3 separate regions of the Homo sapiens genome follow, and all the other regions are linked to region 1. The links are contacts of gene promoters, found by promoter capture Hi-C in blood cells and fetal thymus (Javierre and others, 2016). All regions are on one chromosome and are shown on one strand. The core of a region is centred on a gene start or on the middle of the fragment in contact, and the rest is flanking DNA. Distances in the headings are between cores, read along the strand shown. Region 1 holds the start of TMEM174 (transmembrane protein 174). Region 2 has its middle 25 kb from the start of FOXD1. Region 3 has its middle 39 kb from the start of FCHO2-DT.

Region 1 (3,687 bases), core at 707-3,206:
AGAGATTAAGGACACCAAAGTTTTTTTAATGAAGAAGATGAGTTTCTTTTAGTCATAAAGATTGTTTCTATCATATCATTCCCCATGTGTTGACATGGCAACTCTGCTCTGTCTTGCTCCACAGACCTACGGGTACTTAGGGAAGTCCTGTGTTCTGTCAGCCACTGGTCCCAGCTAGTTCATGCTTGGCGCAGGCCCCAGCCTGGGGTGGACCAAGAGCCCACCCATGTTCATCACACGTCAAGCTTCAACCTTGCAGAAGAGAACAGCAGCAGCCAAGGGTCACTGTGACTCAGTGATCGGGAAGGATGTATTCACAGCGCTATCCTATTATGGTCTATTTTGTGTAATTTAGTCAGGTATCCAATACTATTCTAGCAGGAGACATGATTTATTTTATTTCATTGGTTTGATGTTTTTGTTTTGTTTTGTTTTATAGTCTTTAAGGTACCCAGAGTCCTCAGAGAGGCCAGATGGCAGCTGAGTTGTTTGGGATTAGTGAGTCTGCTTTGGGGCCAAGGACAGCCACCAGGAAATCTCCAGCTGGGCCTGCTTTCTCTTCCCTGCTTCCTTCCCACCCGACTCTCACCTCTGTGGAAACTCCCAAAGTCTCAGAAGTCGTGATTTTTCCATTGGCTGCTGGGGTTAAAATTGAGCCACCAATGCCTTCCTACAGAGAAGGGGGAGGGTGGTGGATGAAAAAGTGAAATTCCTGCTCCTGAACCTTATACAGGAGATTTCTTACCCGAGGGAATTTGAAACTGTTCCGGAGGAGAATTTCCCCAGCCCAGCCTAATTTTTACCAATCTGAGAAATTGCACCTCCCACTTCCCCTTTCCCCCCTTGAATGATCTCTGTCAGGCTGCCTGGGCGCTGCTGTAACTTCTGAAGGTTACAACATAGAACACCACGGTTGTCAGGTAACAATGACGGAAACACTTGCTCCCTGAGCTGAGCATTGTGTTATTATATCAGAATAGCCTCTAGCGAGGGAGAGAGTATATTTCTTCATAAGGGGGAGGAGAGAAGCAGGCACAGGCCTCCTCTTCCAGCTGTGTCTCTTCTAGCTGGTCAACATCAGGATTGGGCCTGAAATGTGAGCAGAAAACACAGGTACATTATGGTCCAAAGCACCATTCACAGAACCAAGGCTGCCATCGTGGGCAACAGGCTAAGAAGAGATTCACAGTCTCCCAACACCTTATTCATGGACCAAACAGCCACAGATCATGACGGAGATGGCTAGAAGGAGTGCATTCCCCCAGTAGACACGCCATACCTGTGATTTCCACCGTCCGTGAAAGAAAGGCAGCCCTCATCAACCACAAATGCAGAGTTATCTTGAGGGTAGATGGTGTAGTATTGAGGAGGACTTGACATGGCGGCTGCTGCCCCTCCAGAGGTTATGAGGCCGCAGGGGCTCACCACAGACTGCAGGTAGCTGGTATTTATCCCCATAGGCTCTGGAGAACCATAAGGAGGAGGGATGTACTGCACCACAGTGGCCCCATGGAAGGTGATGGGTTGGTTGATGCCAGTGAAAACAAATGATGGTCCTCCTGGTGTCTGTTCCGAGTCCGGGACCCTTTCCTCACTTTCTTTGCACAACTGGCAGGAGAGCATTTTGAACTTGCACACAGCAATCAGGATGAATGTCACCCCAACTGACAGCAGGACGGGCCCAAGGAGCTGGGTCCATTCAAAGTGGGAGACACCTTGGTATTTGATCCAGCCCATGACAGTGAATGTGATCCCCACCAGTCCCAGAAAGATGCCTGAGAAGAGCAAGGTGGCCCCCGCCTTGTCATCATCGGACACCTGGATGTCAGCGGTGCTGGGTGTGTAAGGAGTGACGGAGAACACATTGACAGGGAAGTCCTCCAAGCGGCCGCTGCCCTGCTCCATTGCTCCTTGTGGGCTCACCCTGCTTCTTAGAGTGGAGAGGATTGTGAGAACCAAGGAATCACAGGTCCAAATTAGTTATAGAAGAACTTAGGGCTTGTGCTTAACAGGGTGTAACACACAGAGGGCTGGACCTTGTTTAGAAGAATAAAGGTCTGAGAAATGAAGCCTGAAGTTTTCTCATGTATTGTCAACAAGTGGAGGTCTCTGTTTTGCAAGTCAATGACAAGCTGTCTCTCTAATTCACATTCATTCATTCACACATTCAAAAATTAACTTATTGAGCCCATCTTTCTCTTTCTTTTTCTTTTCTTTTCTTTTTTTTGTTTTGTTTTGTTTTTTTAGGGTGTGGGTCTCACTCTGTCACCCAGCTGGAATGCAGTGGCACAATGATAGCTCACTGCAGCCTCAACCTCCTGGGTCAAGCGATCCTCCCACCTCATCCTCTCCAGTAGCCAGGACTACAGGCACACATCACAATGCTCAGCCAATTTTTAAAATTTTTTGTAGAGATAGGGTCTCATTATGTTGACCAGGCTGGTCTCAAAACTCCTGGACTCAAGTGCTCCTCCTGCCTTGGCCCCAGGAGGTACTCTTCTATAGCAATTTAAGACGCTGCCATAAGACCCTGTTTTTGTCCTACCCAACTTTGTAGAAATGGCAGAGCTCCCTCAAGGGTCTCCAGCAGTGAATGGGGCCCTTGATATATCCACACATGCACAGGAGTCTAACCTGATTTACCTAGTGGTTCAGTTCATTAGGAATAGACAGACACCTATTTCTTGACTGCGTGTGTATTCCTATCTACTTCAAGAACCCCTAGCTGTGATGATACTTAAACTTTAATAACAGTTCTCACAAAGCCCTGAGATCCTGTTCTTTTCTGGCCAGCCCCACATGCCTTTTGCTTTCTGCGTTTGGGGAGTAATTCCAGCTTTGGGAGAGGAACAACGTCATAGGAAACCTTTTTATGCACTGCATCACTGCCAGTGGTTGAATAAGCATCAGATATGACCTGGCTCACTAGGACACATGCTTCGGACCCTCCCTCCATGGTGGCCACACAGTTCCTGGTCTTCAAGGTGAAACAACCAGCTGTGTTTTGGAACCTACTATGTTTTACAACCAAACCCAAGTTGATGTAGAGAAGACAGTTTAATTTTCAATAACATTATCTGTCATTCATGACTGCAAAACTTCCAAACAGCCCCATGAGTTTCTTCCTCCACTGATTAATAACTGTAGCCTTCTTTCCTTCCTAGACAGATTTTATTCAAGCCGATGCTCTCTGCAGTAATTAAATATTATATTAGCTCCTTTTGCAGAATTGAGAGGGCTGCCGTCTTGCCCTAAGGCAGGGCTTCCTAAACTTCCCTTGACAAAGAAATCACATGGGCCACTTTTTTAAAGGACAAAATGTGAGCTCCCATTTCAGACCAACAGAACCAAATATCCAAGGGAAGGACCTCAGGTGATTCATCATCAAGAAATCTTAGGAAACCCAACCCCAGGTTAACCTTAAATGCTTCTAGGAGACCAAAGGACATTTTTCCCCATGAAAATGCCTCTCCCTGCTACAGGACAAGGCTTGTAATCTCCTACTTCACTGCCAAACAGATGGAAAAGCAAGCAGGTGACCCCTGAGGTATCTTCCTGGATGTGCCTTGGAGCAGCAAGGCTGGAGTGGAGTTGCTATAGGAACAGGCTGCCCTTTTTCCCACTGAGCTAGATCAGAGATCCAGGAAAGCCAGATTTTCTCTTTAACTATAAATTTCTGGTAAGTTA
Region 2 (3,687 bases), core at 482-2,981, 250 kb before region 1:
AATCTATTATACCACAATAGATAACTAGCTAGGCAGGAGAACAGCAGTGGGGAGACTTGAGAAAAACTGCCTTAGTGTGAATGATGAGAACCTTCATGTAACGAAGCTATTCTGGGCACTGTACAGAACCAGGTCAAGAGCCTTTATTCTCTGGGGTTTAAATTATTTATGTTTTACTTACAGAATCATCTTTAAATGGGAATGTTTATTTAGGTATCCTATTGCTAATTCTCAGAAGTTCTCATTTTGCACTATAACAATAGCTATATGGAAAACAAAATCCCATTGGAGTAAACAAATTCCATTTGTTACTCTGCCTTGTAACCACACACTTAAGCATCTAAGTGTCATGAGTATTTTATAATAAATTTACATCGCTTAAGAAGCAAGTTCATATAGGTAGATAGAAGCTTAAAATGCTCATCTTTAACATAATTTAAAATTTAAAGTAAATAACCAAAAGGATCATTTCAAATTCACATGTTATAAATGCCGCTGTATTTATTTAGGTAGGTTTTTTATGGTAGAGAAAGAGATCAAAGGAAATATGTGTAATGTTTTCCATTTTGTCAACATATCTCGACAGATCTATTAATACAAATCAGTACTATAATTCTATCATAAAAGACAAATAGATTATTGGATATTTTTTACAATGACTACATGACTTTTGTGGATTAAAATCAGGATGATCTAAATATTAGTAGATTAATTTATTTGGAGGAAAAGTTACAAATCATTCACTTAAAAATTGGCTTTGTGCCCACATTCTGGAGGCACACTAGGGAGAGTTGTAGCTGCACTGCTAATGTCTACACAGAGTGAATTTCAGAACATAATTTATGTAGATGAAGTGTGCAGAATGTTTTTATTTGTTCTACATCTCACTGTCTCACCTCTGCATGAACTTCCCAAACCCAGATCTACTCCAAATATTCTTACTCCCCTTCTCCACACTTCCCTCCAACGTGTTTGCTTTGGCAACTTTCATGTTCTTACAAACAATTCTCCCAAGGAAATCAATCACTCTTGCACCCAAAGAGAAATACTGTACACTCAATGCGATGACAAAATGAAACATGTCTGAGGCAAACCATGTGTTCCCGCGTGTCCGGGATTATGCTATTTGCACAAGGAACATGTTCCTAATGTGTTTGGCTTCTGTTACCCCTTGTGATTGCAACTTTCATTGTCTTTTGGAATTTATGATTTCAGAAGCAACTGCTTGGATTCATTTAATGGGACACTTTTGGAATGTGAAGCCTGGGGGATTCACTGGGCAATGTCATTCTGTTCTTTTCAGGCAAATCTGGCCCATATAAGGATACCTGTTGTTTAAGGAATTGTGGAGAATTGATTCTGTTTTGGCACCCCAGACAAATGGCTTACCTAAATGACATGGATCCATCATACTTTGAAAGTTCTTCAGTTCATCAGTGACATTATTTGGGAAGAAACACTTTCTGGCAAGTGAGTGAGGCAATGTCATTTTAGAAAAGAGGTTTTCTGGCCAGGCACGGTGGCTCACACCTGTAATCCCTTTGGGAGGATTTGGGAGGCTGAGGAGGGTAGATCACCTGAGGTTAGGAGTTAGAGACCAGCCTGGCCAACATGGTGAAACCCCTTCTGTACTAAAAATACAAAAATTAGCCAGGCGTGGTGGTGCCCGCCTGTAGTCCCAGCTACTCAGGAGTCTGAGGCAGAAGAATTCCTTGAACCTGGGAGGTAGAGGTTGCAGTGAGCCGAGATAGTGCCATTGGACTCTAGCCTGGGTGACACAGTGAGACTCTGTTCCAAAAAAGAAAAAAAAAAAAGACCTTTTCTGTGGTGCTCTCCTCAGAGGTACTCAAGGTACTTGACCAAATTCAAATTTGTCCCTCAACTTGGCAGCATATTTAATTAGAAGAGAGGAACCACTATTGCCAGTTCCATTTTTATAAGCATAAGACCCATGAGCTAACCAAATCCCTGTCCTGTTCTCTTTGTTCTGAATGAAGGATATCTACTTCCTTACACCAAAGATTGTCATAGTAGGAGGCTGACTCTGGCCCATTTGGCCTTTTACCCGGGTTTCTGCACTGTCTTCCACTGGAGTTCTTCAGTAAGCCCTGGGTTCATTTCTTGCCATGACTCCACCTACCTACTGGGGACCCTGGGAAACTCTGTTCCATTTAAGTTTTTTTTTTTTCTATATCTCATTAGTCTTAGATTTTTTAGAATGACAAATGGGGTGAGTAAATTTTCCCAGTCTGGTGCCTAATATATTAAAAAATTAAATAAATAAGAATTAGAACCATCAATCACTCCCATTGTAGCAAATGAAATGACACAGGCTCAGGGAAGGCACACAACAGAATCCAGTCACAGGTGATGGAAAGAGGCCTTAGTTTAAAAGAAACAGGGAGGCAATAATTAATTCATTGTTGAGAATGGAAATATAATTCTACCCAGTAAGGAAAGTGTTGATACTCAAAATCTTATTCTTCTGTTAAGAGAACTGTGGTCCCAGGGGCATGGAAATTAACATTTAGAGTCATCCCTCATAGACACTGGGGGACACTGTATGCATGAAGAGGGGCCTACGTATGGTGCATGGTTAAGATCACAGGCTTGGGAATACATATGCCAATGATTGGAGACCACCCCTGCCACATAATAACCTGGTGGATAAACTATTTAACTTCCCTAAGCCACAGTGTTCTCATTTGTAAAATGGGCAATAATAATATCTACCTCATAGGTTTATCGTGAAAAGTATGCAATATAATGCATGCAAAGCACTGGCAGATGATACAGGCTAAATCAGTGTTAGCTGCTGTCATTATCATGATCATCATCACATTATCACTGTTACTGATATGACATTCTAGTCAAGGCCATGGAATATATATTAATCCATGTATATATTATATAAATTGTATATATGTAAATCCATATATACATTATTTAAAAGTAACTTATGCTACTAAACAAAGATGGTCAAAGTAAGTGCTCTAAAATTTTTTTTTAAGGGGAATAAGGGACTGTAAAAAGGAAGACAGAGAAAGCTTCAAAGAGTAGGTGGTCTCTTTGCAGGGCCTTGGTCTGGTCTGGGCCTTGAAGGTGGGGTGGAAATTGCCATCCCGTGTTCCATCCACCAGCTGCACTGCACTGACACAGCAGTGCCTCTCTGTTACAGACTGAACGTTTGTGCCCCCAACTCCAAACTCATGTATTGAAGTCCTAACCTCCAATGTCATGATATTTGGAAGTGGGGCCTTTGGGAAGTAATTAGGTTTAGATGAGGTCATGACAGTGGGCCCCCCATGATAGGATTAGTATCCTTACAAGAAGAGGAAGAGATTAGAGCTCCCTCTCCCTGCATTATGAAGACACAGCAAGCAGGTGGCTGTCAGCAAGCAAGGAGACTAGAGCCCTCACCAGGAGCCAAATTTGTCAGCACCTGGATGTTGGACCTCCCAATTTTCAGAGCTGTGAGAAATAAATGTCTGTTGGTTAAGCCATCCAGTCTATTGTTTAAGCCATCCAGTCTATGGTATTTTGTTATAGCTGCTTAAGCTGACAAAGACACTCTCATATGAGGTGAGGGGAGCATCAGAAACCTCAGCCTCCGCATGGGAATATGCCACCTTCCAGGGAGGCAATCTCATTGGTTTACTGGGCTCCAGGCTCTTTATTGTTGTCTCT
Region 3 (3,687 bases), core at 715-3,214, 260 kb after region 1:
TTTGTAAGTTCCCTTCATGTTGTACTAATTTACTCCCACTAGCGATGTGTGAATGTCTGTTTTTGTATTCCCTAGATAAGAGTATGTCCTCAAACCTCTTTCACCTTTAATGTGTGTGTGACCTTTTAAATTTCAGTTGATTGGAGTGACTATCTTTAAATCTTAAATTCAAACTAATGAACTATACATACCCATTGCCTACTTTTCTATTGGGCCATCCTGACTTGTAGTGCTTTATAGATTAGAACATTACCATTTTCTGTGAAAGGAGTCTGTCAAGTTTTTCCCAAGCTTTACTGTCATGCAGACTTTTGTTGCTGTTGTTTTTGAGACAGGGTATCATTCTGCTGCCCAGTCTGGAGTGCAGTGGCATGATCATAGCTCAGTGCAATCTTCAACTCCTAGGCTCAAGTGATCCTCGCGAACCAGCCTCCCAAAAGTAGCTAGGACCCCAAGTGTGCGATACTATGCTCGGCTAATTTTATTTTTTGTAGAGATGGGCATCTCCCTAAGTTGCCCAGGCTGGTCTTGAACTCCTGGGCTTAAGCAGTCCTCCCAACTTGTCCAACCAAAGTGCCACAACGCCCAGGTAATTTTTGTACTTTTTGTAGAGATTGGGTTTCACCATGTTGCTCAGGCTAGTCTCGAACTCCTGAGCTCAAGATCCACCTGCCTTGGCCTCCCAAGGTGCTGAGATTATAGGCATGAGCCACCACACCTGGCCTTTTAAAAATTATACTTTGAAGTGCCATAAAATAGTTTCCAAATATACTAGTGTATTTAGATGTTTAGATCTAAACTTAGTTCTTCTAAGCTGCCTATTCATGCATCAGTTTTAATTCCTGAAGCCACAATTTAAAAGAATGTCAAACTGGCATTGTCCCACACTAATTATTGTTTTAACAATTTTTCTGCCTTATCTTACTTTTTCATATGAACTCTAAAATAATCTCATCTAATTACAAAAACTTGTTGCTCATCTTTTTTTGGGGATGGTGTTTTATTTTGAATGTAGACACTACAAGCTGGTAATATTCAGGGTTGTAATCTGGCCACTTTGGCCTGTTTATTCACTCTTCATAAGCTTCCAAATTTTTTGAACAACTCAGTTTTAAAGAAACAAAGCCACTGAACTTGGCCTTGAGGAAAACAGAAGCCCAAGCTTTGTAGAACCCTAGAAGAGAGGAAGGAGATGGCCCTCATTCTACGTCTCCCATAGCCATACAGAAATCTGCCAAAATAATGACCTTCATGCTATAAATGTAATTCTCACTGCAGACAATATACATCACAATACTACGCTCCTTTGATTTTTAGTCAGCTCTCAGACTTTAATGTTGAGTGCTACAGGGTTAGTCCCTACCATCTTTAATTGTTCCAGTCCTCAGATGATGTTCTTGTCCAATGATTTGAAACAGTATTTATACACCAACTTCCAGCTTTCCATCTTCAGCCAGGTTATCTCCCTGAACTCCAACTGCCTACTCTACTTCTCATGGATGTCTCCAACCAAATGCCAGATCTTCCCTACTCTGGTTAAGGTAAACTGCACCCTTCCAGCTGCTCAAGTCAGACCAAAAGTCTTAAGAGCCATCTGTGATTCTTCTCTCCACAACCCAAATTCAGTATGTTGACAAATGTTGATTCCTCCTTAAAACATATCCAGATATCCAGCCACTTTTCACCTTCCCCACTACCACCCTGATTCAAGCCACTGATAACTCTTCCCTGTTCATAGTAGCATCCCCAAAAGGGTCTACTTGCTTCGACTCTTGTGCTATAGTCTATTCTCAATTACATCACTTTTCTAACCCAAAACCCTACAATGACCCTTTACTTCATTCAGATATAACAACTATACCATCTGGCCTTCCAGTTATCTCTTAGATCTAATCTACTCTTCTCCCTTACTCTGGGTGCTCAAATTAGAACCCTCTCATTTGTTTTACACAAACGCATTATGGTTCTTGGGACATCTGTCCTTATTGTTCCCTTTACCTGAAGTATTCTTCCTCAGACATCCATCATTTCTTCAGCTTTTTGCTCATATGACAACACCCTCTCAGACCTACCTGCTTACTCCATTTGAAAAAGCAACCTCCCCCACTCTATCATCACCTTCCATCTCCTTCTTTCCTTATGGGCACTTGCCACCATTAACACACTACTGTCTTCCTAAAAGAGAATGTTAAGCTCCATGAGATCACGGAACACTGCCTGCAATATAAGACTCAAATAACTGTTAAATATGTAATATAAAAACCTAGATTTTGTATATAAAATTTCCTAAAGTTAGAAAATCATGCTATTAAATCACAACTTACAGCACACATGACAGAATCCACTGGAGTTGGTGCTGGATATGAAAATGAGTACAATTTAACTGAAAGGTAATCTGACTAGACCAACTACCTTTGACCTGCTAGTTTCACTAAGAAATCGCTACAGATGTTTGCAAACATTTAAGCATTGCGACTCTCACTAAAACTTTATTTCTAAGAGTGAAAAATTAGAAAAAACTTCTGAATGTCCAACAACAGTAAGACAGTTGCATAAATTGCTTATAGAATAATATGTAGGTATGTCCATGTATATTAACAAACAATTCTGGATATAACTAAAAACACAAATTCACCATATATTTATATATGTGCACAGGATATTAACAGCAGTTATCACTAGGTAGTTGTATTACAATTCATTTAACTGTTCACTTGTCTTTCTTAAAATTGTTTCAAGTTCTTCAAGAAGTAACACAAAGCTTGAAAAGAATACTTAAGATTTAAATCATCAGAGTGAGACTGCCATAACATGCATGTAAGAATTGACTGGTACAAAAACCTAAAGGGTCTCAGTATAACAACTCTTCTCTGTATTGTTCTTGCCAATGGTTTAGAAATTGCGTTAAATTTACAAATTGTCGCCAGGGGCGGTGGCTCACAACTGTAATCCCAGCAATTTGGGAGGCAAAGGTGGGCGTACCACTCGAGGTGTTCACTCGAGGTCAGGAGTTCGAGACCAGCCTGGCCAACACGGCCAAACTCTCTCCTAAAAAAAAAAAAAAAAAAAAAAAAAAAAAAAAATTAGCCAGGCCTGGTGGCGTGCGCCTGTAATCCCAGCTACTTGGGAGGCTGAGATGGGAGAATTGCTTGAACCTAGGAGGCGGAAGTTGCAGGGAGCAGATATCGTGCCACTGAAGACTGGGAGACAGAGCCAGAGTCCTCTCAATTAAAAAAAATATATACTAATTGTGATGTGTACATTATTTGTGTCTATCTGAATAATGGAGATGTTTCGGGGGTTCTTACACTTTTACATCAAATTAACAACTCAGAAATAAAGAATTTTTAAAATGACAGAGCTTTGGTAATTCCATATTCAACTGTATAGAACACAAAGGAAATTCAAGTTAGCTCTGTAGTTCCTGCTGCCACTTTTCCAATCATTCTTAAAGAATCACGTGAAATTGTGGAGTCATACTGATTATGAACTCATTACAAGAATGCCCGCCAGTCCAAGAATTGTTAAGCCAGCCTTACTCATTTATCATTACGATGGTTTCATCACCTGAACTGAGAAGAAAAAGATCATTTGCATAAAATGGATAGGGCTTTAGTATCACTAAAATATTGACGACTTAGAAAAGACTTTTGGTTCCTAATCTTGAACAAGAATTAGGATGACTTT

What was found. The method cuts DNA at HindIII sites, captures the fragments that hold promoters and counts their contacts. A CHiCAGO score of 5 or more calls a contact.
Region 2: a contact is called between a fragment that was not itself captured here and the fragment with the promoter of TMEM174 in region 1, in 1 of 17 cell types (endothelial precursors). The highest score is 5.0, in endothelial precursors.
Region 3: a contact is called between a fragment that was not itself captured here and the fragment with the promoter of TMEM174 in region 1, in 3 of 17 cell types (erythroblasts, megakaryocytes and endothelial precursors). The highest score is 6.1, in erythroblasts.

The regions. Positions count from the first base shown.
Region 1 is chr5:73,171,462-73,175,148 of GRCh38, reverse strand. TMEM174 (transmembrane protein 174) reads right to left here and starts at 1,956. Exons shown (of 2, transcript NM_153217.3): 1 at 1,280-1,956; 2 at 6-1,089. The coding sequence starts at 1,905. The coding sequence ends at 984. The HindIII fragment of the contact is 4,462 bases long and covers 248-3,687 here.
Region 2 is chr5:73,422,008-73,425,694 of GRCh38, reverse strand. No RefSeq gene overlaps it. Among named protein-coding and RNA genes, the nearest start is that of FOXD1, 25 kb to the left of the region's middle. The HindIII fragment of the contact is 2,637 bases long and covers 413-3,049 here.
Region 3 is chr5:72,915,516-72,919,202 of GRCh38, reverse strand. No RefSeq gene overlaps it. Among named protein-coding and RNA genes, the nearest start is that of FCHO2-DT, 39 kb to the left of the region's middle. The HindIII fragment of the contact is 1,599 bases long and covers 1,165-2,763 here.